2 separate regions of the Homo sapiens genome follow, and region 1 is linked to region 2. Evidence: promoter capture Hi-C in 16 types of primary human blood cells and fetal thymus (Javierre and others, 2016). All regions are on one chromosome and are shown on one strand. Each heading gives the region's core, a stretch centred on a gene start or on the middle of the fragment in contact. The rest is flanking DNA. Distances are from core to core; before and after follow the strand shown.

Region 1 (2,774 bases), core at 275-2,774, 3.5 Mb before region 2:
TTAATACCACTGTGGCTGACAGCCTATGCTCATAATTGGAGGAAATGCCAAGTATCAGTAGGCGGTTAGAAGAAACAAGATGAAAATGTTTTCCCCATTCAGGGACTCCCTGATTTAAGCTGAGAGCCTCTCCTTCCAGTATTTTGTAAAAGTCAACAGTTATGTGAAAAAAAAAAAAAAAACAGATGAATTTCTGATTGATTGTATTTTTTTGGCAAAACAAAAAAATCACAAACATTAAAACATTGTGTATATTAAGTACATCTAGAAAAGTGTATGCAAAATATTTCATATTTAAATAGAAGGGACCAGGGCTCAATGCTGCTTGGCCCGGGGCTTCTCTCTACCTCTCCACGTGGCGGGAGCAGGTGAGGGTCGGCATCAGCCCGCAGGGCCGGCGGAGGATTGTTTCCCTGCACCCCACTCCTTAAAAACGCGAAAGTCAACTTCTGTAGTCCGTTCACGGTGTCCTGGGATCCACGCTGGACGGTGGCGGCCGACTTTCAGCTTGACCTGAATTTTATTCCTAATCAGCTGTGTGATCTCGGTTGGTCCCAAACGTCTCTGAGCCTCCCTTTCATCTGTGCAGCTGGGCCTCCAGACCCCAACCCCCAGGCGGTGCTTAATCACGTAGACCTTATTCTGCGTGCACTTTACCACAGTTCACCAACCACCGAGCGCTGAGAGCTGTTGAAGCACCTGGAGCAACACAAGACGGATGCGGAGACTGGAAACAGCTGGGGAAGGGGACAAGCTCCAGCCGCGCTGTGGGCCGGAGGCTAGCATCTGCGGGCAAATTCAGGTTCAACGGAAGGCAACATTTTTACCCCTCAGAATTGCTCTGGACGAGGAGGCAGCACCGGATGGGCGAGGGAGGGAGCCTCGCTTTGGCTGCGAGCCCCAACTCTTGCCAACCATCAATTGAGTATAAATTGAGATTTCTGTACAGGATGCCCCTCCCTCTCCACTTTCCTCCACCTGCGTCGGGGTGCGAGAGACCTGGTACATTTTAGAAATGTGCCTCCGCTGAGACACGTAGGCGGGCAATCTCGCAGGGACTTGCTGGGCGTGGTTACTTCCGCGGATCTTGGCGTTCCCACATCTTTGAAGTGCGGTGGGAATCGGCGGCGACTACGTTCACATTGTCCCAATACTTCGTTCCTGAGGGAGGAATAAACTAAAAGTTAATCATAACCTCCCTTCGACCGCGGCAGGACTCGAACCTGCAATCTTCTGATCCGAAGTCAGACGCCTTATCCATTAGGCCACGCGGCCCGTCGGTTGTTACCGTCTCTTGAGCAACTTATAAAAACGTCACCTCCGCCCACCAGCTAGCTCGGGACCAATCCACCTGCTCCTTGAGAAGGGGAGGTTGGCCTTTGGTTCGCGCGTTCCGCAGGGAGAGCCCACCCAGAAGTCCCCCTTCTCCCCCCGCGGGCGGACCGCTCCATTGGCGGCCCTCCTATTGGTCGCGCTGGGAGTCTCCCGCTTGCCTCTCGGGTAGCCGCGGGACCTAGCTGGGTGCAGACGGGAAGTTGCGGCTGCCAGCGAAGCGGACCGGCCGGGTGGAGGCCACACGCTACCCCGAGGCTGCGTAGGCCGCGCGAAGGGGGACGCCGTGCCGTGGGCCTGGGGTCGGGGGAGCAGCAGACCGGGAAGCACCGTGAGGACCGAGGTTTCCGGCGGGGTCGGCGGCGGGGAGGCCGGGTCGCTGAGCGACGGCGCGGCCCCTCCCTCTCCAGTCAGGGAGCGAGGCCCGGAGCAGGGCGGCGGCTAGTCCCAGGGCGCACCGCGGCGCCTCTGCCGGGCGCAGGCGGGCGGCGGGGCGCACGGGGGTGGCCGCCGACTCCTCCTGCAGGACGCTCTCGGCCGGGTGGGCCGTGGTCCGGGTGTGGGTGTGGGTCCCGGGGGACGGCGGCCCACCCTGCGGGTTCGAATCCGGGCGCTGGCACCTCTCGACGCTAGGCCCGCGCCGGTCGCGGTAATGGCAGCCACCATTTGCCGAGCGCTTGCCAAGAGCAGGGCCGCACGACATAGGCGCCCTGTGTCCCCCAGACAGCAGCCCGGTGTGACAGGCAGAATCCGTAATCCCATTTTACAGAATAGGATATCAGGGCCTAAGGAGCTTTGCCCAAGGTCACACAGCTCGAGAGAGCCAGAAGCGGGGTTCAAAACCGCGTCGCCCTACTCCAGATACTGCTCTCTTACTCGCTGCCCTCGGCTTCCCCACGTGGGTTCACTGACGAAGTTGCGTGGACCCCGGTTCCCCCAGGAGGGGTATTGACGTTTCCCAAGTTTTGAGGCTTAACGGAAAATGCAACTGAAGCGCCTGGCACAGTGTTGGGGACGCAGTAAATGCTCAAGGAATGATGATTATGGATACACCTATTACATATATGGTAAAATAACGCTTTATATCATCTGTCTCCTTTAGGATTTGGGGTGGAAGGCAGGCATGGTCAAACCCATTTCACTGACAGGAGAGCAGAGACAGGACGTGTCTCTCTCCACGTCTTCCAGCCAGTAAAAGAAGCCAAGCTGGAGCCCAAAGCCAGGTGTTCTGACTCCCAGCGTGGGGGTCCCTGCACCAACCATGAGCCGCCTGCTCTGGAGGAAGGTGGCCGGCGCCACCGTCGGGCCAGGGCCGGTTCCAGCTCCGGGGCGCTGGGTCTCCAGCTCCGTCCCCGCGTCCGACCCCAGCGACGGGCAGCGGCGGCGGCAGCAGCAGCAGCAGCAGCAGCAGCAGCAGCAACAGCAGCCTCAGCAGCCGCAAG
Region 2 (2,812 bases), core at 224-2,723:
CACTACCTTTTCTCTTCAGAAGGCACCTTAACAGTGCACTTGGCAAGCTTCTTACCTCTGGCCAATATTGTTCATAAATATCAGAACCCTGGTGCCTTAGATGTCTGCAGATCTGGGCCAAATGGAAGCACAAATCTGTACTGAGCACTTACTACATGCCAGGCCTATTCCATATGTTATCTTAATCTTTCCCATACCCCTGCAAGAAAGGTTTTAGAATCCTCTTCACCAGTAAGAACCAGACACCAGAGAGTCTGAGCCATCTGCTTCAGTCCTACCCAGCTCTTGAGGGGCAGGGCGGGGCTTCAAACCCAGAACATCAAGCTGTTTCCCAAAAATGCCTTCCCTGGTGGTATCTTCTCATCATCTCCCAGTCTTTTAACCCTGGCATATCTGTCCTGTCTAAGCAGCTTTCTACCCAGGGGCTCTATTTCCCAGGTTCCACTAGTCACAATCCTATCCCCTCTCCCAAATCTTTGTACACTTTCTTAGACCTTCCTTGCACCTCCCACCTCCACCTCCGTCAGGGTGACCTCTGCTTCCTGGGAATTTCCCCGCCCCAGGCTTGGCTCTTTCGTTCTTATCACTTTCTATGCTTTACCTTTTGTATCCTTAAGCAACCTACTTGAATTATCGATTTTCATTGGGAGGGAGAAAAGAGAGGACATTTATTGCGCACTCATTTGTCTGGGAATTTGTCTCCTTTAATCCCCCAAATAATCCGATGAGGAGTTTTTATCTGCCGCTTTACGGATGAGATTGGACACACACAGTAAGCTGAAGTAGTAGTCAGGAGGGAAAAGGACGAAGAATCACAAACCGTTCTCCCCCTCCAAGATGAGTGCATGGTGTGGGCGTCCAGGAAACGTTCCTGGAAGAAATTATTGGATGGATGGATGAATGAATGAATGAACGAACATTTAAAGGCTGGCTTACGAAAGGAGTTTAGTGAGAAATGACACAGAGAGGAGAGCTGAAATACTCCAAAAAATACAGATTTCAAGTACAGGTGGGGTTTGGAGGCTGCAGAAAGTCCCAAACATTCAAACAAGCCCAGAGTGAAAGACAGGGTTTCATTAACACTCGGGCAACTACTAGTGTGGCTCTGAAGAGTCTAAAGAGATCTACAACACTTGTGACCCGAACACAAAAGAGGCATATGCAATCTACAGTGCTCCCTCTGGAAAGCTCTAGAACACCGTCGCGTTTTGTTCCCAAACTTGGGCGGCGGGGTTGGGCAGGCGCCTGTCTCTTTAAGAATCTGGTCGAAGTCCTTTTCCTCGCCCCGCCCCGCCCCCGGTCCCCCCCCCTCCCCGCCCCCGGCCCCCCACCCCCCGGTGCCGGCGCGGCCTGGGGCCCACCCCCTTCTTTTCTGCGGCTGCACTGAAGGGTTCGGCTGCCCATCCGTCACAGAGGCGATGCCTCTGATTGGCTGCTGCTCTTCGGGCCGGGAGGCGGGGCGGGAAGGCCGGAGAAACTAGTTTGTTGGCGGCGCCTAGGCTGTATCGCAGCGAGAGCGTTTTTGCCTGTGGAGAGCCGGCCGACGGGAGCCGCGGCGGAGCCTGTTGAGCTCGCGCGGGCTGCCGGGAGTGGTCTCTGAGGCGGCGGCGGCGGCGGGGATCGTCTCCGGCAGTGAGTATCCAGGCCGGGCGGGGACGCCGTGCTCTGGCCGCAGCACCCGCGCCCCCGCTCCCTGCGCTGGGGACTCACCACCCCGGGCCGGGCCGGGACCAAGCGCTCGGAGCCCCCGCGGGACTACGTGTCCCGGGAGGGGGCCCCGCGGCTGGGGCCGGGGCCCTGGGACAATGGTGGGGAGCGGCGGCCGGCCGGCACCCCGCGGCTCCGCGAGGGAATTCGCCGAGAGCTCTGCGCGAGGGAATGAATTGTTTGGCAAATGGATGTTGCGCGCGGGAGCCGCTACTCTTTCCCCAGGGAGTGGTTGATTCATTGAGTCCGCAGACTCTTTTTTTTAAAAAATTACTATTGATCCTGGAAAGAGAGACTGCTTGTCTTTGAGGACGCGAGCGGCGATGCCCCGCGCCTTGGACGCCCAGGCCGGATGGCTGCCTGCCTGGCGCAGAGCGAGGGCCCGGGGTTCACAAGGGGAGGGTTTGCGCGGGCCTGGCCGCGGAGCCCCGAGCCGTTCACGTTCCGCCTGCCAGGGTCCCTCGTTTCGGTTTGCAGAACTGTCCAGCGGCAGAGAAAGGTCGCACTCAAAGGCACACCCACCTGTCCACCTGGGTGGCGGCCAGACTGGCAGGTCCAGAGCAAGCCCTCTAGCCTGACTCTAATTACCACACTTGCCCTGGCTCCGAGACACACCGCGCGATGTTACGCCCCCACTCCCCCTGTCTCTTTCGTAGTTGCTTTAGAAGCTTTTCTCTTGGGGGATTGTGCCCGGGAGATACCAGATACTTTTTTTGTGTTGCTGCTCTAAGCCCCCAAAGTGCATTCCCATTGTCTTTGAACAAAGAAACATCTCTCTAGAGGCCTGACCCAACGAACTGTGGGTGAGGGGGCGGACCCAGGCCCCTGCAGATTTAATCTGGACGCTCTTGGGTCCTGCTGGATCCCGGTGAATTTGACCTTGGGGAAGGCGGGCTGGACTTTGACTCTCCTCGGTAGTCAGGGCAGAGAATGCCAGGTGTCTGGACCATTTGGTTCCACTCTATCGGCCCAATAGAGAGAGGAAGGGAAGGAAGTTAGCAGTAGCACCAGGAGAGGAGGCAGGATTCCACGGTCTGTATCCTGGACCAGATTCCAGTGACCGTTATGGGGCCAAGCCCTCTGGGACCCTGGGTCCCAGTCTCCC

What was found. The method cuts DNA at HindIII sites, captures the fragments that hold promoters and counts their contacts. A CHiCAGO score of 5 or more calls a contact.
Region 1: a contact is called between the fragment with the promoter of POLG here and the fragment with the promoter of KLHL25 in region 2, in 1 of 17 cell types (monocytes). The highest score is 5.9, in monocytes.

The regions. Positions count from the first base shown.
Region 1 is chr15:89,333,574-89,336,347 of GRCh38, reverse strand. It overlaps POLG (DNA polymerase gamma, catalytic subunit), which reads left to right and starts at 1,524. Exons shown (of 23, transcript NM_002693.3): 1 at 1,524-1,675; 2 at 2,435-2,774. The coding sequence starts at 2,594. POLGARF (POLG alternative reading frame) reads left to right here and starts at 2,539. Exons shown (of 2, transcript NM_001430120.1): 1 at 2,539-2,774. The coding sequence starts at 2,539. POLG-DT (POLG divergent transcript) reads right to left here and starts at 1,861. Exons shown (of 2, transcript NR_186332.1): 1 at 1,494-1,861; 2 at 187-1,161. It overlaps TRR-TCG1-1 (tRNA-Arg (anticodon TCG) 1-1), which reads right to left and starts at 1,275; the gene lies at 1,203-1,275. RefSeq lists enhancers at 316-365, 706-775, 786-885, 1,755-2,256 and a silencer at 1,466-2,065. The HindIII fragment of the contact is 8,583 bases long and covers 1-2,774 here.
Region 2 is chr15:85,793,586-85,796,397 of GRCh38, reverse strand. It overlaps KLHL25 (kelch like family member 25), which reads left to right and starts at 1,473. Exons shown (of 3, transcript NM_022480.4): 1 at 1,473-1,632. RefSeq lists silencers at 1,283-1,352, 1,503-1,802. The HindIII fragment of the contact is 2,328 bases long and covers 50-2,377 here.